7 separate regions of the Homo sapiens genome follow, and regions 1, 2, 3, 4, 5 and 7 are each linked to region 6. Evidence: promoter capture Hi-C in 16 types of primary human blood cells and fetal thymus (Javierre and others, 2016). All regions are on one chromosome and are shown on one strand. Each heading gives the region's core, a stretch centred on a gene start or on the middle of the fragment in contact. The rest is flanking DNA. Distances are from core to core; before and after follow the strand shown. Region 1 overlaps XRN2 (5'-3' exoribonuclease 2). Region 2 has its middle 7.8 kb from the start of NKX2-2. Region 3 has its middle 11 kb from the start of NAA20. Region 4 has its middle 9.3 kb from the start of LINC01727. Region 5 overlaps LOC105372558 (a long non-coding RNA gene). Region 6 holds the start of RALGAPA2 (Ral GTPase activating protein catalytic subunit alpha 2). Region 7 has its middle 8.9 kb from the start of BETALINC1.

Region 1 (3,275 bases), core at 468-2,967, 680 kb after region 6:
TTTTGTTACAGTTTATTTGAATCAGTTTATCGAATTTTGCTTTGAATTCTTTCAGCCCAGGACCTCTAAAAATCGTGTCAGTGAACTAAGGCTCTTTATGTTACTATGGTTAGATGGCACTAGGCCGTTTCAGTGATGAGCATTTTTGAAGTGAGGACTATTTGTAACTGGAAGAAACCTTGGAGAATGTGTAGTCTAGTCACCTCATTTTCCAAGTCAGGAACTGAAACCCTGAAAACCCCACACGGTTCAGCAGGAGAACTGGTAGCTGGCTGCCTAGACTGCTGACCCCAGTTCATCCATTTTCCTCTCTCCTTTGGAGATCTTCCTTTTAAAGGAACTCTGTGCTGTTACAGGAGGTAAAATTCTTATTTACTTAGAAGATATAAACCAATTGGTAAATTTATTATTCTTTTAGGACTTTTTGAAAATAACATTTCTTCTTTCTCAGTCCCTTTGCCAGGGAGATACTTTTTATTAAATCACAATTGTTGAAGCACTATTAAATTGCAGAAGTTTGTTGTTAAAAACATAGAATCATTACTTCATTGTATTTTTAGTAAAGTTTTATATGACCAAACAAGGCCTTAGCCTGCATTCTGGCCTTGAGTCTGCACATGTTCATGTTTAAAGTACTGAAGTGCTCTCTGGGTGGCAAAATGAGGTGGGAGGGGGTTCCATTTCAAAACCCTAGAGGCCTAGGAAAGGACTTATAATGAAGAGGTGTCAGGTTTATCTTTTGTTATACAGAAATGTTATTTGCAAACATACTAGGATATGTTATAAAGGTCACGGCTAATGGATTGTGTAATAACCTTAATATGTCATTTAAAGCCCTACTATTTGTTGCTAAATAAAAAATCCCTAAAATCAATTGCTCATTTGGCCTTAACTGACTTAGCAAGCTCTTGCCTTGGTTAAAGCAAAGTTACTTTCCTTGTGTAATAAGTCTAAATTGATGTGGGTATCTTACCACAAAGTGACTTGAATTACTACTGCTAGGACAGTGAGAAAATTGAGAACCACTGTCTGTACATGTTGTTTACACAGAACACTTTAGTTATTTGTGTGCATTTGTGATTGTTAAGGTTTTTTGTTTTATTTTTCAGTAATAGCATTTGTGCTAGCCTCCAACTTTGCAACAAGTCTGTATTAAAGCTCTGGATCAAAGCACCTTTTATGGGGCCTTTCCATGTGCTGTACCTTTAACACATACTCAGTTTCCTTATGATGTGTTTTTCCATAGAGGTTTAAAGTTAACTGACTTGCAGGAGTATCGGTCCAGAAAATAAACTCTTTCTTTTGTTTATTTTCAGGGATATCCCAGAGAAGGAAGGAAATACCCTTTGCCACCACCCTCAGGAAGATACAATTGGAATTAAGCTTTTGTAAAGCTTTCCCAAATCCTTTCATCATTCTACAGTTTTATGCTATTTGTGGAAAGATTTCTTTCTCAAGTAGTAGTTTTTAATAAAACTACAGTACTTTGTGTATTTCTTTTAACTGTGTATATTTCTACTGATCTGATCTCACTGTTTATGTTGCTTTCCAAAGATGTATGTTGCATAATACAGTGGATCTGAATTTATTATTGCTTATAAAACACATTTGATGGAATAGGAGTACTGGTTTTTCATAATGGTTAAAAATGAAACCAGCTGTGGATTTCAAAACACAGTGTATTCTAGATCATCTAAGATCCATGCTGATTTTTATTGCACAAGAATTAGGTTTGAACTCGAGCTGGAACCTCAGCAAACTAGAGTATATATTGTTCAGTATTTCTTTGGAAACATTTCATTAATGTACTTGTCTTACAGAAATTTCTGAACTTTAGTAAAAAAAAATAAAGTTAAACTTTTAAAACTCTGTTTTGTGTTGTTATTTTGCAGTATTTCAACTTTGAAAATCTTGACCAAGCGTGGTTTTTTAAAATTAACTTTTGCAGAAAACTATTTCTGTAATCAGATGTCCAAACCAAAGGACAAAGAAGTCAATGAAGAAGTAGATTTTAAAAGATAGGGTCAGCAAGACATAACAAAAGCTTTAACTTTGTTGTATTATGTCAGTGACTGATCTGGCTAACTCAGAAATCTTTGTGAGATAAATTACATTTTTACAAATTTAATGTAGACTTCTCCAGTTTTAAGGACTTGTTTTAAATCTTCAAGTTGACAATTTTAATTAATGGCCAAATAGTCTATGCTCCTTAGCATATTTTTGTATGTCATTAGATTGCAATTTGTACTCATGTTTTTCCTTGCTACTAAGTACACTATAAATTGCTTAAATGTGTGTTTGGAGTTCACATACAGCACTTACATATGCATTTTCATTTGATTGCCAAAACATATTTAGACACACATACAGAGACTATTGCTTTGTTTCAGTTTTTCCCTCCTAGCCCAAGATTGTGAGGTAAAGCTTCTCTTTGACCTCCTGACTTAGGATATTTTTGCTTTAATATTCAACTGAAGCACGCTTGTTAAACTTAGTCTGTGGGAAAAAAAAAAATCTCACCTCAACCTTGAATAGGAAGGTATTTTGTAGCTATTGAGTTCATTGCTAATGATGGGTGACCAGAGCAGGATCCTTTATTGTTGAGACAAAGAGTCTCTCCATCAGGAATTACCAACCCAACCCTTACATAATTGCCTTCGCTCAACATTCAAGTGATAATGCCTTCTATTAAATTTCTCTGTAAGTTTATCTCCCAAATATTAAAAATGTAGACAGCCATCTCAGTAAAGCATTGCATATTCTAAAGGAGCTTATAAATGTTTTACTGTTTATAGTTCATAGTCAAAACCCACAATTCCACTCTTTATATTCTCAGACCTTTAGTTTTGGCTTAGTTTTAAGCTGGCCTGAGACTGACTCAGTTTTTGACTGAATGTTTAAAGCACTGTTTGGAAGACATCTGAGCAAAAGGCCTGATGGAGAAACTGATGACGGCAGATTTCCTCTGCAGAACTGGCAGGTGTTCCCTCGCTGAGCCGGCTTCAGGCCCTGCTCCGTGACCTCACCCTTGCTTCTTCCTCTCCATCCTTAGTCTTCATCTCTTTCCAACTTGGTTCCGCGTTTGAATCTTCCAGGAAAATGCCCTGCCCATTTCAATCAGCAAAATGCTTTTCAGAGCTTTAATGTTTAAAGCTGTAAATATCTCCTCCAAATTCTGATGTAAAAATAAATTCGTTGGGCCAATTTTAAGTAGTTACTTGTACGCAATTATATTCTCTTTAAACGGCACATTTTTTCAGGGTCTCCTGTTAAAC
Region 2 (3,128 bases), core at 233-2,732, 810 kb after region 6:
TTAACTGTGGATGCAGGAGGAAGGCATCTAGGTGAGCTCCCTTCTCCCTATTCTTTTTCAAGGCAAAATATACAACACTTTCCCAATTATCTGCCTCCCTCCCACCACAAAAGGGGCACATATCTCCCAAGGATGTAAATAGTAATAGAAATTAGTATTTGTCTTTCTATTAATCAGCTTCATTGTGTGGGCATAAGACCCTGCGGGCATATGTTAGGACTTTGATAAATGCACTTTAATGAGATCTTTAAAAATGCATCCAATAAAATAAAAGGCGAGGAAAGCCGTTTAACTTTCATGGATGTTAAATTGAACACGAACTGTGGCTCCGGGCACGCTACAAAATGGAACCGGCCTCTCTCCAATATTTTCTTTAAAAACCTAGCTTTAAGCCCCCCTCGGGCCAAACGAGCCTGTCCCAGCCAATCCATTATCACCGGTTTATTGGGGAACCAAACGCCACGTCCCCCTGGGCGAACTCCTTGGCTTTATTCGTTCGCGCTGCTCTAATGACTAAATATGTTACAATGAGATTACGCATCGTCAGTGTTGCCTTCAGGAACGTTCTTTCAGCCAAGCCCGACCTTCCCCGGATGAGGGCGATTTCAATACGGGAGATCTGGGTTTCTCCAGGAAACACGCGCTGAAAGCACTCTCTTATCTGAATTTACTTCTTAACACGTGACAAAATCATTACCACAAGACTTTGGAAAACAAGCGGCTCTCCTAACGGGTTGCATTCAGCACTTAAAGCTGGGTCGGGCAGGCTGATGTGAAAAGTAGTTGTCGGTGGCGCGGAGAAGGCACGCTCTTAGCTGGAGCTAAGGGCTGGTTCCGGGAAGGACAGGGAATGCACCCTTGGGCCCTCGGGCACAGAGAGGGGGTTCCTAGGGCTCTGTCTCTCTCTCTCCAATGTGAGCCCCAGAGGTTCACAACCTTCCCCTAGACGCAACGTCCCCTTTCCACCCCCAAGAGCCACTAAAGTCGAGAAGGCGCCAGAGGAGCTCCAAAGGGCCTCCTGGTAGTGTGTGCGTGTGTGTTGTGGGAGGAGGTTGGGGCGGAGGGGGCGCCCCTCGGAGACAAGGACCCCACCGAGGTTCATTTCTGATCCTCTGGCGATCTCTACTGACACAAACGAGAACTGTCCGGCGCCGGGCGCGGCCCAGGCGACACTCGCCTCCCAAACTCCAGTCTTCAGTCGCCTCTCCAGAGACCTCAGTCCACTGCGCGGGCCCTCAGCCCCGGCTCCTCCTGTCTGCGACTCCCACCACTTGCCCTCGTGCTCATCACCACCGTCCCCTCACGTCCCAGTTCCGTCTGAGGAGAAGCCCCTGTCTCCACTGGGCGCCATCTCCAAATTACCTTCGGGACTTCTGCCTCTGTTTCAATCCCCGATCCCGAGCTCCCTGCGACGCACAGGGGGCGACTTACCCGGTGGAGGTGGGTGCAGCGGCCGCCCCTTCCTCACCGCGGCCCCGCCAGCCGAGGCGCAACCGGCCCCGGGCAATCGGGAGGGAGCTAGCCAGGCGCTCCGCGCGCCCGCTCCGCCTTCTACTCCCGGAGCTGCGGCGACAGCCCCGCCGCATTTCAAGGCGCGTCTTTATCTAGTACTCCACCTACCCGGACCCCCCTCGCTCTGCGCCCTTCCCCCACCGCGCGCCCTACCAGGCGGGGCTCAGGGGACCGCAGGCGGGGACCGCCGCGGGTGCCGCGCCCCTCCCTCCTCCTCCGCCTCCCAGCCCCGCACCTTCCCAGCCCCTGGGACAGTCCCGCTTTCCCTGACCGCACCGGAAAGTGCGCAGCGGCGGGATCACCTGGCCTCGGCGGCTGGTAAAACTTTTCCTGACTGCAGGCGCGACAGAGGGGCCCTGCCCGTCCTCGAGTGCTCGCCACTCCTGCCGTGATCCGCAAAGTCGGGGAGAACTTCGGAGGCCCGCACTTGCCCACCTGCTGCGTCCGGACTACGCGGCTTGGGGATCGAGCCGAGTCAGGACCCGGGAGAGCGAGGGGCTCATAACCGGGGTCCGCCGTGAACCCGAGCTCCGGCGCCGCTCGGCGGCGACGACGGTGCCCCGAGACCCCTCTCTGCTGGCAGGCCGCGGTGACCGTGCCCGGAGCGCGTTCCCGCGCCGGGCGGCTGTGGCAGGAGGACCAGACAGTCAGCGCCTGGCAGCGAGGGCGACGCCGGGCTTCCTCCATCGCCACCGCCGGGCTCCGCTGCGGCTCCCGGGCTCCGCCGGGTGCCCCGCGCCATCCCCATCCCGCGTTCACCGGAAACGCGTGCGAGCTGGAGGCTCACCTGGAGCGCGACTGCGCCGCTGGAGCCTCGGCTGGGCGAGCGCGCAGGTCCCGGCCGCTCTTTATCCCGAGTCGCGGGCGGCTGCGGAGTCGCGGGCGGTCGGGCGGCGGCTCGACGCGGCCGGCGAGCGCTCCCCCTCCCGGCTCCGGGCTCCTGGCTCCAGGCTCCCGGCCCAGCGGCCCCACCCTCCTAGCTCCGGCCCCGCGGCCACCGCGCAGCCCCAGCGGAGGGGGCAGCTCCCCCGCGCCGCGCGCGCTCTGTTTGTTTTCCTTGCCGGACTGACGTGAGTCAAAATATTGGCCATATGTTCAGCGGTAATAAATTGGGTATGAGCGCAAACACACTTGGGCTTCGATGGCTCTTTCAGCTGCCACATGGTAGGCTTTGCGGGGAGGGGGCTTCCACCCCGCCTCGGCCCCCTGCCCCCAAACGCGCGGGTAGATTCCCTCCCTCCTGCGCCCCTCTGAGCAGGAGATCTGGGACCCCAGGTTTCTCCTGACCCTCGCCCCTCCTCCGTCCCCAGCAGTGCCTTGGACTCCGCAGCTCCTGGCGAGCCCGGACTGCTGGTTAACAAGGTCGCCATCTATAAATTGCTCGGTCGCTAAGACGCCATAAAACCAAAGGGCCAGATGTGGCACGTTATTTATGTGTGAAACCGCGTTTACACTAGATACGCGGATCCAAGGCCGATAGCACGACTTCGCGGGAGGTCACAGACCTCTCGCCCCGGCTCCAGGCTCCTCCCCCAGCACGATCTCCTCTCCAGGTTGAGGGGTGTCGGTCTTGCCGGGAAAGGGATTCACCCCTGCAGCCCAGGAGGAAAGTGATT
Region 3 (2,998 bases), core at 58-2,557, 710 kb before region 6:
AGTCTGCTATAAATTCTCCCATTTAAAAGTAAAATTTGCCTGAACTCTGAGGCTGCATGTAAGACACTTAGACTATCATTACATTAATGAATCTGAGTATTTCCTTTGAGTGCACACATTAGAACTACTACAGCCAGCCCTCATTTCTCACTGCTGGGGAACGGGGGTGGTCAGATCCTGCCACCTGTGGAGAGGGGCTCAGAACCTGAGGACCACGGGTGGCCAGGGAGGAGCTCCTAGACGGCCTTCACCTCTGTAACCAGCCTTCGGTTTCCTGGGGGAAATATCACTACACATAATTAGCTCCATTGCTTCCCTTTCTTCCCATTTCCCCACCATGATTCTGTGGGCTGGGTTTTCCCTCACGTAGTAGGTTTGAGGGTGCTCTTAACTCTATTCCAAGCCTCCTTGCCAAAAAGCAGGCTCTGATCCTTTTCACAGTTTGTTTCTTCAGTTCCAACCAGAGACTCAAAAAGTGTGAACCCGGCCCCACTGCAAACATTACCCGCCCACACTATCTGTCACCAAGACCCAGTGTCCGTTGTTCCATTTGAATAGGTGGCTCTCAGCTTTGGCTGTCAGCTTGAAGTCACCCGGAGCCTTTTAAAACTCCCAATGCCCCAGCTGCCCAGACCATCAGAATCTCTGCAGAGGCGACCCAGCCAGCCATATTTATTTTAAACTTCCAAGGTGCTTCTGCTGTGAAAACTACTAGTTTAGATCAAAATCTGGATTTTAATATAAAAACACACCTGCGAGAAGTAACACCTTTGCCTAACCAAGACCACTGACACCTAACCAAGCATGCATTCTCAACCTGATTTGGCTGGCAGAGGACCATGGAACATGTACTTCTAGCCTGGTGCTATCCCGTAGAAATACGAAGCAAGCCACATAATAGGTAATTTTACATTTACTAGTGGCCACATTTTTAAAAATCAAGAAGAAATATGTAGAATCAATTTTAGTAATTTTATTTAGCTCATGATATCTCAAATATATTTCAACAACCAATCAATTAAAAATATTAAAGAGGCATTTTACATTTTTTTATTTTTTATATTGTCTTCAAAGTCTTGTGTGCATTTTGCACCTACAGCACATCTCATTTCACACTGGCCATGTCTTAAATAACCAATAGCCACATGTGGCTGGTGGCTACCATATTGGAGAGTGCAGTTCTAGCATATCAACTAGGGATGATCTTAAAAGTTAAAAAAAAAAAAACGGTATGTGTATATAAAATAAAACACATTCACAGGTTACATCTACAAAGGAACAGACACATGCATCCTGTCAAACGTATGTACCTATTACTAGCCAAGGATGAAAATAGCATCTTGCCTCTTCAGGCACTGCTGTAAGGCAAACATAAATTGATCCATGCAAAGTGCTTAGAACATCCAGGCACCACACCACAAGCACTGTTAAATGTTACTTATTATGATTATTAGATAATCGACTGCTTTGGCATTTCACCCCTACTGCTTATTTCTGCTTACCCATTCATGCTATTATCTGCTGGCAAGTTTCTTGTGAAACAGAAGAAAGGCAGTAATGGGTATCAAAGGTTTAAGAAAAATGTACTGGGGCGGGTTGCTCAATGTAGGAAGATCAAACATAAAGTGAATACTAGTCATTAATTTTATTTTATTTATTTATTTATTTTTGAGACGGAGTCTCACTCTGTCGCCCAGGCTGGAGTGCAGTGGCACGATCTCGGCTCACTGCAAGCTCCGCCTCCCAGGTTCATGCCATTCTCCTGCCTCAGCCTCCTGAGTAGCTGGGACTGCAGGTGCCCGCCACCATGCCCGGCTAATTTTTTATATTTTTAGTAGAGATGGTGTTTCACCGTGTTAGCCAGGATGGTCTCGATCTCCTGACCTCGTGATCCACCCGCCTTGGCCTCCCAAAGTGCTGGGATTACAGGCGTGAGCCACCGCACCTGGCCTAACTTTATTGTTGTTACTGCTGACGGTGGTGATGGCGGTGATGGTGGTGTGTGCGTGTGAGTTGGGAGTAGCTCATTTTCCCCAGTATTCAATGCTGGTCAAGAGCATCATCAGGGCCCATAGCCAGGGGTGACTTTCGCCAAGAAGGGAGAAGGGAGCAAGGGAGGTTGCAAAGACGTCTTGCTAGCTTCCCAGTCACGGGCAGATCGAAATCCTAAGAGGAACCATCTCTGCCTGCACAAGAGTCTAAAATAGTATTTCCCAAAAAGGAATTATTATTTAAGTAAAAGCATAATTATAGTCAGTGATTATTTTAACCACTTTCCTCCACCTTTTTCCCCTTTTACTTTATTATATTCACGAATTTATATGTCCATTTATATCATTTAACAGGACTATTGTTTAAAACTTGGTGCTTTACCAAGAAGAATACAGAGGTTGACGTGATTAATTCTTTTTATTTCTGATGTGCGTGCTTCCGATTTCTCACCACTTCTACAAATTATGAGAGAATGCATTTATTTACCAGATTGCAGTTTCCGTCCATTTTATCTTTCTCACTCCCATTTTTCTCTGCAGCCTATTGATGTACGATCATATGCAGAAAAGACTTATGCATCTATTATCTACTGAAAGAAAAACTACAGAAAACAATAAAATGCTAGAGACTCTTTAACCAATCAGAAAAAAATACGTAAGTGAAGCAGCTACGACATCACAAAGCTTCTATTTTTCGCTAGCACATGAAAATATGAGACCTGACAAATTGCAAACTCTCATTGAACAGATAGTTTAGGGTTTTGCCTTGAAAACCATAGTCCACGGATCAAGCATCACATCTTTTGGGAGTTTGTGAGAATCTCAGACCCCTGGCAGACCTGCTGGATCAGAATCTGCATTTTAACAAGATTCACGAGCACATTAGAGTTGGCTTGAGAAGCATTAGTTCAAGGTATATTTGGGGCCTTGGCATTTGTGCAGCTGATACAAATACACAAATGTAGGAGGTGTGCTGCTCTTAGAACCCTGCAGGAAAGGAGAAGAAA
Region 4 (2,932 bases), core at 80-2,579, 850 kb after region 6:
CTAAACCCAGTGTGCCTGCTGCTACCCCAGGGATGTTCACATAAACAAATCCAGAGCAAAATACTGAGCAGAAAACCCCCACTTGTGGCCACATTCTGTGAGTTCTGCTTTATGGTCATACCGGTATCCCAGAGATGCCTGAATCTGAAACTTGCTCGCTGAGGGGCTGAGACAATTTTACTCTCATTAGGATTTACCCAGTAACGAGTCGGGTAAAGGTCTCACTCAGAAACAGACTAGGGTCAAATTCGTAGAGACAGAAGGTAGAACGGTGGTTGCCAAGGGCTGAGGGAGGGAGAAACGGGGAGTTGTTTCACTCATAGAGTTTCAGTTTTGCAAAATGAAAGGAGTTGTGGAGATGGATGGTGGTGATGACTGCACAACAATGTGTGTTAATGCCCTGGGCTGCATGGTTAAGAATGGTTCAGATGATCACTTTTATGTTATATGTATTTTATCCCAATTTAAAAAAAATAAAAAATAACGACAAAAAGAAATAGACTACAAAGAAACAATGCTGTTTTTCATCATTCTCACACCAATTAATCCCCAGAGCTGTCTTCTGATTAAAGACCACCACTGTGTCTTCATTTCAGGGACAGATGAACCCCATCTTGAGACAGCACCTCTGGATTTTATGCCATCCTCATGAGTGACCAAGGTTTCTTTAGAGCTTTTATGCTCATGAGTTACATTCTGCATTTGGAGTCGAGGGTACACACAGTGCTGCGCTATAAAGACATTAAATGCGAGTCTGCTATCTTTTGAATGTCAGAGAATCCCACATAAACATGGTTAAAGAAATAGACGAACCCTTTAGGAAAGGGGTCTCAACAAAGCACTCTGCTCTCCTATTCAGTGGGGAGGTGGGTCCAACGGTGGCGACAATGATTTTCATGGATGTGGTTCAAGGCTGTTCTGAGCAGATGCGTCAGATTCACGAGGGACTGCAGCCCCTGGTGGGGCTGGGTTCAAGCATTCCGAGGGCCCCGCCTGAAATCCACGCTCTCATTATCAAGGAAACCACGTGCATCCCTGGTCCTTCTTAAGAATCTGCGTTCAAGGTCGTTATGGATGCTCTGTGATTGTGAAGGCTCTTTCAGGCCCACCCTTCCCATGTGACGGGATGGTTTCACTGGGTCTCATGTGCTCAAGGTGAGCTGGGTTTGTATAACCGGCAGTGACTGTTATTCACCGGGAAATGTTCAAAGCCTTAGGGCCAAAACCTGTTTATCTATAACAAAGGGAAAGTCCCCAAGTCATCTGGGTAGATCATCTTAAAAGAGAGGACTCTTCTATTTTATAGTTTTCCAAATAGTGAGGGATAAACGGTCAAACAGGTAAACTCTCTGTCCCTCAGCAAAACAACACACAAACAAGTGATAAAGCCCCCCTTGCCAGCATAGGGGGACTCTTTCAGTGTTTGCGGGTGGGTTTAATCTCCCTGGGCTGTTATAGACCTTCCTTCCATTGCACTCCTAGAGGCTTCAATGTTATAGGATGGCACTTCTTCATATTTAATCACTTCTGTACAGCTTCCTACATTTTTGCTATATTCACAAATCATTTACATTTACTTTGTAATTTTCATTAAATCAATTTTAAACCAATTTAAAAAATTTACTTAGCCGTAGCCAGTGGCTTTCAAAGTTGAACATGTATCAGAATCACCTGGAGGTCTTGTTCAATGACGTATGGCTGGATCTCCCCCTCAGGGTGCAGTAGGTCTGGGGAGGGGCTGAGAATTTGCATTTTATCAATTTTTCAGGTGATTCTGATGTTGCTAATTAGAAGGCTACAGTTCGACAAATACTTTTCTAAGCAATAGCATCCCAGGAATCATGGATTTGATATGGCTTTTTAAAAAGAGGTGTGTTGGCTGGGGGTGGTGGCTCATGTTTGTAATTCCAGCCTTTGGGAGGCCGAGGTAAAAGAATCACCTGAGGTCAGGAGTTCAAGACCAGTCTGGCCAACATGACAAAACCCCGTCTCTACTAAAAATACAAAAATTAGATAGGCATGGTTGTGGGAGCCTGTAATCCCAGCTACTCAGGAGGCTGAGGCAGGAGAATCGCTTGAACCTGGGAGGCGGAGCTTGCAGTGAGCTGAATTGCGCCACTGCACTCCAGCCTGGGAGACAGAGTGAGACCCTGTCTCAAAAAAAAAAAAAAGGGTGTGTTTTTTAGATTGCAATTAGAAACACGGAGACATTGAGAAGTGGGCAATAATAAAGCCACTTTTCATGAAGTAGTGAGATCCCCTCCCTACAGTGGGTGTCCTTGTGAAGGAGACCAGGGTGGCGCTCCCTGCTGGCTCTCACCCGCCCCCTGGCGTGGGTGTGCCTACTGATAGAGCCAAGGGCTGATATCCTATCTGGCTCTGTCGAAGGCACAACTTGGGGCAATTCCTTACCCCTCTTTGTCCCCCAGTCTTCCCATATAAGCAGGGAGGTGATGACACTGACTGACATCTAAGGGTTCTGTTGCTCCATCCTGGGGCCTTTTTGAAGATGGTTGCCTGATGGAGGCAGCCTCCAGAAGAGAGGCTGGAATCCCCCTCTGTGGGGTGGCGGGTGCACTGTGATGTTTCATGTATCAGCACTTTCTGAACTGCACTTGACAAAAACCCACCTCAAACTGGCTTGAGCAAGAAAGGAAACTTATTAGCTCATGCCACTGAAAAATGTATGTCTGGATTCAGGTTTGGCTGGATCCAGGGAATAAAAGGGTGCCATCTACTTCGTCTCACAGTCTCTTTTGCTTTCACCTGCCTGCTCCATCCTCAGGCAGGTTCCTCTCAGGCAAAGGTAAAACAGTCACCAGCAGCTCCAGGCCTATGTCTTGCCAACTTAGCACCTTTTCTCAAGGGTTTCAGCAAAAGTCTCAGCACTGACTCTCACTGGACTATATTATGCACCCATCACTGAACCCAT
Region 5 (3,133 bases), core at 579-3,078, 690 kb after region 6:
ACACTTATGAAGATCAAACACATTTCACGCCCAAGAAAGTCTAATCACGAATTGTCCTTAGCTTCCTGTATATGGATTGTCCCGTTTCCATATGTTCAAGCAAGATGTATCTCTCTCACATAGATATTTTTACTTAGAGACTCAAGAGGACATATGTAAGGCAAAAAAAAAACATAAACATTTATTCTTCCTCTGCCTTGATATATAAAAAATCTGAGGCAGTTTATAAATAAATATATTTGTGCGCTTTAAACATTTAGTAAGACTCAAGACCTCATAAATAAGGATCTTATAAAAGAGTAGGAAATTAAGATATAAGTTGAAAAAACATCAACTAAACAGGCTATAAAGCCTACTGAATTCCTATAGTTGAGCCTCACATTTGGCTCTAAGCTTCCTCGTGGTCAATTGAAAAAGTCAGTTATATTTTCCTTGCATTTAGGAAGAACACCCTCCCAATACACACAGACATACACACAACATTTCTCAAGGAAAGAGGCATTTCCTAATACTCAGCTCTAAAAAAAAATTTGTCATGGGGCTTCATGGAGGGAGCACTGAACATAAACATCTTAATAGTTCTATAGCAGATGGAATTATTTTTAAATATTGGCTTGTTGTAGTGGCCATTCCTAAAAAGTCTGAGACCTCAACATCGAATCATCTCAATTAAGGACTCTAAGGTTTAGGAACAAAATATGGTTCAGGTTTGTAGCCTTCTGATTCAGGAATGCTTCATACTTTAAAAAAATGACTTCATAGATCATGCCTATAATCCCAGCACTTTGGGAGGCCGAGGCGGGTGGATCACGAGGTCAGGAGATGGAGACCATCCTGGCTAACACGGTGAAATCCCGTCTCTACTAAAAATACAAAAAATTAGCCAGGTGTGGTGGCGGGCGCCTGTAGTCCCAGCTACTTGGGAGGCTGAGGCAGGAGAATGGCGTGAACCCAGGAGGCGGAACTTGCAGTGAGCCGAGATCGCGCCACTGCACTCCAGCCTGGGCAACTGAGTGAGACTCCGTTTCAAAAACAAAAACAAAAACAAAAAACAAAAAAAAAACTTCATAGAAACTACAACATCGTTTGATATCCTAGTTATTAGAAAGTTCTGATACTGAGGCTAAATAGGTCACCATAATTTGCAGGTAACAGTCCTAGATCAGTTCTTTGATGCCAAACTAACTCTAGTTCTTTCCCACAAAGCACTCTAAATATAAGAGAATATTATATTCTACCTATGTTTTCTCCTTTTCATACTAAAAAAATCCTCCAGAGCAAAAAGATCTAGAATGAACACATACAATTATATTAACTAAGAATTTATTTAGTGATTACTATATGCTTAAGATTGTCTTAGTGCTTTAGAAAACTGGGGAAGGAGCCCCTCTGATATTAGAATAAACTTATCCCTGGCATTCATATCCTGACGTTGAGCAGTATTTTAAAATTATATATTGATGTAGTTTGGATGCTTGACCCCTCCAAATCTCATGCAGAGATTTGATCCCCAGTGTTGGAGTGGGGCCTGGTGGGAGATATTTGGATCACGGGGAGGCATCCCTCATGAAGGGCGTGGTGCCTTCCTTCTGGTAGTGAGTGACTGCTTCCTTTAGTTCTTGCAAGATCTGATTGTTTAAAAGAATCTGGCACCACCCTCCTCTCTCTCTCGCTTCCTCTTGCCATGTGATGCCTGCCCTCCTTCACCTTCCGTCGTAAATTGAGGCACTCTGAAGCCCTCACCAGAAGCAGATGCTTCTGGTACAGTCTACAGAACTGTGAGCTAAATAAACCTCTTTTCTTTATAAGTTGCCCTGCCTCAGGTATTCCTTTATAGCAACAGACTAAGGTATTCCTATATAGCAAATGGACTAAGACATGTATACATAATATGTATTACTTTATGTACTTTTATGTACTATTTGAAATTATATGTTTATATCCATGTGAATATATCCTGTATATATATGTGTATATATATGTGTGTGTGTGTATATATATATATATATATATATGTATATGTCTAAAAGAAAATGCATGTCAAATTCTAAATAGCTGACTTACTAATGAACTTTTCAGAACACATCCCATTTGTAAGGTGGGGATAAGGCAAAAATTGTAAACATTACTAATATTTATTTGTCTTACTAACATACTAGTTACTTTCATGAGCTTTATGTGTTTATCTCATTTAATAGGTACAATAGAAGAGAAGTGTCATCAACATTGACAGTTCAAACGTAAAGATCTTCTAAATAGGGGTGAAAAAGAAATCTTAAAGTTATTTATGGCTGCTCTCCTGCATCTCTACAAGGTTAATAGATGATGATTTATGCAATTTTTTTTTAGACGGAGTCTTGCTGTGTTGTCCAGGCTGGAGTGCAGTGGTGTGATCTTGGCTCACTTGCAACCCTCACCTCCTGGGTTTAAACGATTCTCCTGCCTCAGCCTCCCAGGTAGCTGGGATTACAGGGACCCGCCAGCACATCCTGCTAATCTTTTTATTTTTAATAGAGATGGGGTTTCACCATGTTGGCCAGACCAGTCTAAACTCCTGACCGCAAGTGATCCGCCCACCTCAGCCTCCCAGAGTGCTGGGATTACAGGCATGAGCCACAGTGCCTGGCCTGATTTGTGGTATTTTTGAGTAGCCGTTGTTAATGAGACTATTCTTACATTGCCAGATGATTTTGATGACTATTTTAATTGGATATTTGTTTTGTATACATTTTCTTTATAAGGGCAGCAGAAGGTTTGGAAGTTTCAAGTGGTTAGAGTAGAGTTAATGGAGCAGTAATAGAAGGTGTTTCTTTCCTCTAGGTACTACAGTAATGAAGTAATTTTCATTTTTGCTTTTTTCTTTTCTTTGAGACAAGGTCTCGCTGTGTTGTCCAGGCTGGAATGCAGCGGCATGATCATGGCTTTCTGCAACCTGTGCCTCCCAGGCTCAAGCAATCCTCCCACCTCAGCTTCTGAGTATCTGAGACTACAGGCAGGCACCACCACGCCCTGCTAATTTTTGTATATTTCGTAGAGACGGAGTTTTGCCATGTTGCCCAGGCTGGTCATACTCCTGAGCTCAAGCAGTTCATCACCTTGGCCTCCCAAAGTGTTGGGATTATAGGCATAAGCC
Region 6 (3,168 bases), core at 2-2,501:
CTTCGCCACCAAATACACAGGTAAGTGTGTCTATAGATAGCAAAGGTGTTTTCATCCCAAAGAAAAGTTAAGACTTAGGATGTAAAAAAATACAGAAAACAAAACATAGCCTAGGCGAACCAGCTACAGATCACATGCAGCAGGTGACAGGAAGCCTTGTGGACACCTCACACCCACAGGGGCGAGCTTCATCACAGGTCAACTCCAAGCCCACCTGAGCTCCTCAGAACCTCCACCTGGCAGGCCATAAACCAGAAGGTGGCAGACAGCATCACTGTCATGCCGGTAATAAAGGAGAAGCAGCCTCCCTGAACCCAAGAAAACCACCCCTCTCTCCAAGCAGGAAGAGAAGGCCCCTTCACACCAAGGACACAAAGAAACTGAAGCAGCCAGACCCAAAATAAAAATTAAATTTAAAAAGCAGCATGGGAAGACAGATGACAAATCTGTGCTGGGATCGCCTGGAATCTCGGTCTATATGGGGGTCTCACACTCAAAAGTAAAAATAAAATTTAAAAGGGGGATGACAGAGATGAGAGCCCAATTAGGTCTGTGCTGGGTTCACTTGGGGTCTCGGTCTACTTAGGGTCTCAGACTCAAAAATAAAATTTTAAAAATGAAAGGGGGAGGTGACAGTTCAATGTGTGCACGTGATGACCACTTGGGATCCAGTTCACTTGCTGGGAGGACAGGGGACAGGTACCTCTGTGCCCGGCCTCCAGGTTCTCCGGGAGCGCAGGCGCCCAGCGAGAATCTGGGCTAAGTTTAACTCGAGGGCGACGGGAGCAGTGCCCGAGGGCCAGGCTGCGGCTTTCTGGAAACAAAGCCCCGGGGGTCCAAGCCCAGATCCAGGGAAGGGGGTCGGACGCCCACCCATCCCCCTCCCCAGCCTCCCAGCCACCGACCCCTGCACAGAGGAGCGCCCTCCCGGCAGGTGCCCCTAACCCGGCGCCCCGACCCCCGCGCCCGGCGCGCGCCTCACCCAGCAGCGCCCGCAGGTGCTTCAGGCGGGTCAGCACGTCCTTCTTCGGGTCCAGCACCTTCTGGGTGGACTTCTTCACATCCCCGTGGCTCCTTCGGGAGAACATCCCGCGGCAGGAAGCCCGGGCCCCGCCGGCGGGGCAGTAGGCGCCTGCGCCACGCGAATCAAAGCATAGGGTCGAGGCCGGCGCGTGTCGCGCGGGCCACTCGCCGCCCCCAGCCCCGCTGCTGCCGCCGCCGCCGCCGCCGCCGCCGCCTCAGCTGTGTCTCCAGGAAGGAGGGGCGGGCCGGTCACGGCGAGGGGCGGGGCAGGAAGGCGGTGTCGACGGGGAACCGAAGGCCCCGCCCCGCGGGAGGTGCCGGCCGGCCCCTTGGGCGCTACGCACGCGCACACAGGCCGAACTCTCCTGGCGGGACACTAGCCCGTCCGCGCCAAAACCTAGCGGGGACGCGCTCAGAGGGCCGAGAAGGCGCCTCGAATCACAAAGGAGCTTCTCTCACGCACACGTTGTACTACAAGTCCCGAGATGCACCGCGAGACAGTCCTCCAATCAGGCTGGCGGTCTTCGGCACGATGGGAGTCAGTGGGCCGGCATTGGGCACGTCGCCCCGCCCTGCCGCGGGCCGCAAGTGCTCCTGGGAAATGAAGTTCTCCAGCAGGCGACGCGCTGCGACCTCTTTTCCAGGGTCGCAGAAGCGCAGGGCGGCCTCTGTCCGTCCCCTGCCCCGGCAGCCTAGATCGCCCGTGGTTTCACTCTCCCTCCTGCGCGCCCACCCCATTTTCCTCTAGTGCAACGTGAACCACACACGCCCAAAAATCTCAGTAAGAAAAGTGTCAAGGCTTTTCAAATGCAAACTATTTTTAGGTTTAGCTTCTGGATTCACACAAGGGAGCGAGTCGAAGCCCCTCTGACCGTGCCGAAATCGCAGCTCTAATTTCACACTAAAATGAGTTGCTTTGGCACTAGGGAAGAGCGTGCCCCGGTGAGGAGTTCAGCCGGCCCCTAGGTTCCTGGAACCCAACCTCACTTGGGGTATGGAGGTCGCTCGCTCAGAGGGCTCCTTGGGATCTTGCCTCTTTGTAGGAAGGGTGCGTTCTCTGTTGTGCAAGCCACATGGCGATCCAGTAGCAGAACCAGAAATAGAACCTGAGGGATCTGACTCAGGCCTGTATACTTTTTAAAGCCAGGCGCTTATTCCCTGGGGCAAGACTTTGAGCTGAAAGATGGTCAGGAGATTTCTTACACTGTAGGATTGTATAGTGGCATCCGAATCCTGCAAGTTTTGACATCCTTTCAGCTTTTTCAGCAAGTACTTAAGGTAGAATCACGTGGTTTCCATCCAAATTGGGACAACACAACTGTCTTTTTCTCCTCTAGCTGAACTGTAACTTGAGGGAAGAGACAAGGATTTACACGCCTTTGTATCCCCATCCCTCAGCACAGTATTTGGCCCATAGGGTCACTCAATAAAAGTTTATTAAATGAAATACAATAAAAAGCTAAAGTAGTCCTACATATTTCAACCAGGCAGGCGAAAAGGAAAAAATAAATAAATAAACTCACAGTTTTAGAGCGTCTCTCTATTTTTAGATTTGTGTAATATTCCTTTGTATAGACACATTCATACAAAGGAATATTACTCAGCAATAAAAAAGAACAGACTACTGATAAACCCAATAACATGGATCACTCTCAGACCCGGAGATGAAAGCCCCATGCTCAAGATGATGGCAGAGCGGCCCTACCAGCCTGAGTCCCCAGATGATAACAGATCAGGACCACAAACTTCTAAAAGTGTAACAAGAGAGCAAAATAATGTCTTATCTTAAGTCAAGGCATTTTGAGAGTCTTCGTTACAGCAATTGAGCTTGTACCTGATTACACATAGTAAACCACAATGTTCACTGTCCAATTCCTTTAGGAGAAGATACTTTTCCTTACACTGATTGAAAAAATAGAATATACTTGTCTTAGGAAACTCCATTTTTTTAATTGCAAAGCAAGCTGCCATCATCATCAAACATTTATTGAGCACCTGCAATGTGTAAGGCATGATTCTAAACCCTGGAGATAAAAGATGTATAAGGTGCATCCTCCTGACCTCCAATGCTTCCAATCCAGTTAAGGAGGCTGAGCGATTAGATACATGTGGGAATAAATGACAGTGTACAGTGAACATGTGATA
Region 7 (3,374 bases), core at 690-3,189, 830 kb after region 6:
GGTTTTTCCAGAGGGTGCTCCATTAAGCCAGCCCCAGTGTCCTTCTGGCCCATCTCATTATTTTTTGAGCACTTCTTTATGTGTTCTGGCACAACAATGTATTCTAGGCTTATCTGGTACTTTCCATGGATCCTTTCCTTTCTCTAGACTTATCTGGTACTTTCCATGGATCTCCTCTCCTCTCCTCTCCTCTCCTGTCCTCTCCCCTCCCCTCCCCTCCCCTCCCCTCCCCTCCCTTCCCCTCCCCTCCTCTTTCTCTTTCTTTCTTCTCTTTCTTTCTTTCTCTCTCTCTTTCTTTCTTTCTTTTCTTCCTTTCTCTATCTCTCTTTCTTTTTCTTTTCTCTCTTTCTTTCTTTCTTTCTTTCTTTCTTTCTTTCTCTCTCTCTCTCTCTCTCTCTCTTATTTTGTTTGAGGAAGGGTCTTACTCTGTCACCCAGGCTGGAGTACACTGGTGCAATCATAGCTCACAGCAACCTGGACCTCCTGAGCTTAAGTGACCTCCCACCCCAGCCTCCTGAGTAGCTGGGACCACAGGTACACACCACCATGCCTGGCCAAATTCACTATTTCTAATTCCCTTTTTTAATGGTGGGAAACCTGGCTCTGATTATTTATTCATTTGCTCAATCCCACATAATATAGAAAAAGCTTCAGTGTTGCAAACACATACCGTTGAGATAAACAAACATTCTAATTGAAGTTCAATATCTATTTAGTTCTTTTTGGTTTTAAACTGAGGAGAAATAGAGTACTGCATTCAAAATTACTTGGAATAGGTTTTTTTAATTAATTAAACATTTTTTTCTTTTCTCCAGTATGGATATGTTACTCATCTGAAGTAATATTAGATTCATTTGTTTCTGTTTGGTTTATCCTATTTTAATTTTCTTTTCTTTTTTTTTTGAAACAGAGTCTTGCTCTGTCGCCCAGGCTGGAGTGCAGTGGCGCAATCTCGGCTCACTGCAAGCTCCGCCTCCCAGGTTCACGCCATTCTTCTGCCTCAGCCTCCGGAGTAGCTGGGACTACAGGCACCCGTCACCACGCCCGGCTAATTTTTTGTATTTTTAGTAGAGACGGGGTTTCACCGTGTTAGCCGGGATGGTCTCGATCTCCTGACCTCGTGATCTGCCCGCCTCAGCTTCCCAAAGTGCCGGGATTACAGGCGTGAGCCACCGCGACTGGCTTAATTTTCTTTTTTATCCTTTTTTAATTACCCATTTTATTCTTTTTTTTTTTTCTTAAGAGATGGGGTCTTGCTATGTTGCTCAGGCTGTTCTCAAACTCCTGGCCTCAAGTGATCCTCCCACCTCAACCTCCCAAAGTCTAGAATTACAGGCATGAGCCACGGCACTCAGCCTTTTTTTTTCCTTACTGAGCAGGAAATATCTCAATAAGAGTTTATCTTCAGAAGTCCTTTTTGCCCCAGAAACTGAGTTTTAGATGCAGGGATCCTCTTGATCTTAAATGGCGTCCTCTAGGGAAAATGTGGTGGTTCTCAGCTGCTTCAGCGCAAGCTCTCCAAGCCCGTCTACTCAGCATGAAAATCTAGGAGGGGTGAGCTGAAGAACTGTCCTCATCTCCAGCAAAGTCCTTATAGTGGAAGGACGCATCCTTGAATGGATGACATCTCCTTACCAAACACAGTGCCCCAGTGCATATACATGGATGTAGCATCAAAGTACAGACAGCAAGCAAAAAACACGAAGAGAAATGTGCACAACACAAGTCTGCCAAATCTCTCTCAATCATACAGGTTAAGGGGAACAAAAAAATAAGTATCCTGGATTGGAATATGGATTGAAAAAATATTGCTTTGGAGGAGAATATTGGGAAAACTGGTGAAATGTGAATAAAGATAATATTAAATATATTTGATATTATATAATGGCATTGTATCAGTATTCAATTTCCTGAATTAAATATTTGCTCTTTGGTTTACAGAGATGGTTCTTGTTCTTAGGAGACACATGGTAGAGAATCTGGGGGTGAAGGGTCATTATATCTGCAACTTACTCTCAAATGGTTCACACACACACACAGACATATACACATCCACACACATCTACATATACACATACACACATTCACATACATATATATACACACAATCCACATATCCACACATAGACATCCACACACGTGCACATCCACATACACATATTCACATCCACACACACACACACCTCCACATATACACCTCTACATATACACACATCCACATATACACATATACACATTCACATACATCTACATATATGCATACACACATTCACATACATATACACATACGTGCACACAGCACATATCCACATCCACACGTGTACACATCCACATATTCACATACATACATACACACATCCATCCACACACATCCACATACATGCATTCACATACATATATGTATGCAGGCATCCACATGTGTACATATACACACCCATACATTCACATCCATATACATCCACATATACTCATCTGCATATACACATGTACACAATACACATATCCATACATACACATTCACATACATACATGCGCACATACATGTATACACATACACACCTGTACACACATACAAATGGCAAAGTGTGAGTAGCTGGTGAAGCATATATGGCGGTTCATTGACATTATTCTTATAATTTTCCTGTAGTTTTGAATTTCTTCAAAATAAAAAGTAAAAATATTGATAAGTAATAAGACAGATCAATTTTACATATGACAGACCAGCCACATCATGCATCTATGTTGAAATCTCTACACTTTTATTCAGACACCCATGTCAGAGTCACAAAAAAGGGACCACATTTTAAGCTACAACAAAACTTCCATAAATTTCAGAAAGAAAGTAAACAGTTTCATTATTAAACAAGAAATAATGAAAATAAAGGGTATTCTATTCAAGAAGTTAAGAAAACGATCAACAAAACATCTAAATAAAGCAGAAGGGTGGGATTAAAGTAGATAAAAAATCAGAAATAAGTGTATTTGTAAACAGAAAAACAATCATGCTAAAGAAAAAACCCAAGCACTGGTTCTTTGAAATAATCAGTGATGTAGATAAACTATCAGTGGTTTAATTTAAAAACACATTGTTATGGAGAGTTGTGCAAAACCCACTCATGTAGTTCAATCTATTAATAAAGCAATGAAGAAAAATTATACTGGAATCTCAAGAGTTGCTCAAAGTCACTTAATAAATTGTAATGCTCGATATGCGGGGGGCCCTTCAGGCCTAAGCTTCATTAGCTGTATGCAAAATCCACCGAACTTTGCCTCTGGATCCCAGGGTCCTGCGGGGACAATTCAAGTGTCTGCCTAGCATAGAGTTATGCTTGCCTTAGCCGAGGGATGTGCAGGAGAGAGTGGCTGCGGGAATC

Evidence for each region. The method cuts DNA at HindIII sites, captures the fragments that hold promoters and counts their contacts. A CHiCAGO score of 5 or more calls a contact.
Region 1: a fragment that was not itself captured here is called in contact with the fragment with the promoter of RALGAPA2 in region 6 in 2 of 17 cell types (naive CD8 T cells and naive CD4 T cells); the score reaches 5.7 in naive CD8 T cells.
Region 2: a contact is called between a fragment that was not itself captured here and the fragment with the promoter of RALGAPA2 in region 6, in 1 of 17 cell types (activated CD4 T cells). The highest score is 6.4, in activated CD4 T cells.
Region 3: a contact is called between a fragment that was not itself captured here and the fragment with the promoter of RALGAPA2 in region 6, in 3 of 17 cell types (activated CD4 T cells, naive CD4 T cells and total CD8 T cells). The highest score is 6.1, in activated CD4 T cells.
Region 4: a contact is called between a fragment that was not itself captured here and the fragment with the promoter of RALGAPA2 in region 6, in 1 of 17 cell types (non-activated CD4 T cells). The highest score is 5.0, in non-activated CD4 T cells.
Region 5: a contact is called between a fragment that was not itself captured here and the fragment with the promoter of RALGAPA2 in region 6, in 2 of 17 cell types (naive CD8 T cells and activated CD4 T cells). The highest score is 6.3, in naive CD8 T cells.
Region 7: a contact is called between a fragment that was not itself captured here and the fragment with the promoter of RALGAPA2 in region 6, in 2 of 17 cell types (activated CD4 T cells and total CD4 T cells). The highest score is 6.2, in activated CD4 T cells.

The regions. Positions count from the first base shown.
Region 1 is chr20:21,387,957-21,391,231 of GRCh38, forward strand. XRN2 (5'-3' exoribonuclease 2) reads left to right here. Exons shown (of 30, transcript NM_012255.5): 30 at 1,317-1,869. The coding sequence ends at 1,382. Among named protein-coding and RNA genes, the nearest start is that of NKX2-4, 7.9 kb to the right of the region's middle. The HindIII fragment of the contact is 650 bases long and covers 1,393-2,042 here.
Region 2 is chr20:21,520,266-21,523,393 of GRCh38, forward strand. It overlaps a transcript of NKX2-2 not described here. Among named protein-coding and RNA genes, the nearest start is that of NKX2-2, 7.8 kb to the left of the region's middle. RefSeq lists an enhancer at 624-1,438. The HindIII fragment of the contact is 5,340 bases long and covers 1-3,128 here.
Region 3 is chr20:20,005,084-20,008,081 of GRCh38, forward strand. No RefSeq gene overlaps it. Among named protein-coding and RNA genes, the nearest start is that of NAA20, 11 kb to the right of the region's middle. The HindIII fragment of the contact is 2,731 bases long and covers 1-2,673 here.
Region 4 is chr20:21,559,296-21,562,227 of GRCh38, forward strand. No RefSeq gene overlaps it. Among named protein-coding and RNA genes, the nearest start is that of LINC01727, 9.3 kb to the right of the region's middle. The HindIII fragment of the contact is 7,332 bases long and covers 1-2,932 here.
Region 5 is chr20:21,404,157-21,407,289 of GRCh38, forward strand. All of the region lies in intron 2 of LOC105372558 (a long non-coding RNA gene), which reads left to right. Among named protein-coding and RNA genes, the nearest start is that of NKX2-4, 8.2 kb to the left of the region's middle. The HindIII fragment of the contact is 2,875 bases long and covers 392-3,133 here.
Region 6 is chr20:20,711,393-20,714,560 of GRCh38, forward strand. It overlaps RALGAPA2 (Ral GTPase activating protein catalytic subunit alpha 2), which reads right to left and starts at 1,252. Exons shown (of 40, transcript NM_020343.4): 1 at 983-1,252. The coding sequence starts at 1,088. RefSeq lists a silencer at 1,143-1,402 and enhancers at 1,394-1,688, 1,513-1,712. The HindIII fragment of the contact is 11,955 bases long and covers 1-3,168 here.
Region 7 is chr20:21,537,364-21,540,737 of GRCh38, forward strand. No RefSeq gene overlaps it. Among named protein-coding and RNA genes, the nearest start is that of BETALINC1, 8.9 kb to the left of the region's middle. The HindIII fragment of the contact is 2,586 bases long and covers 647-3,232 here.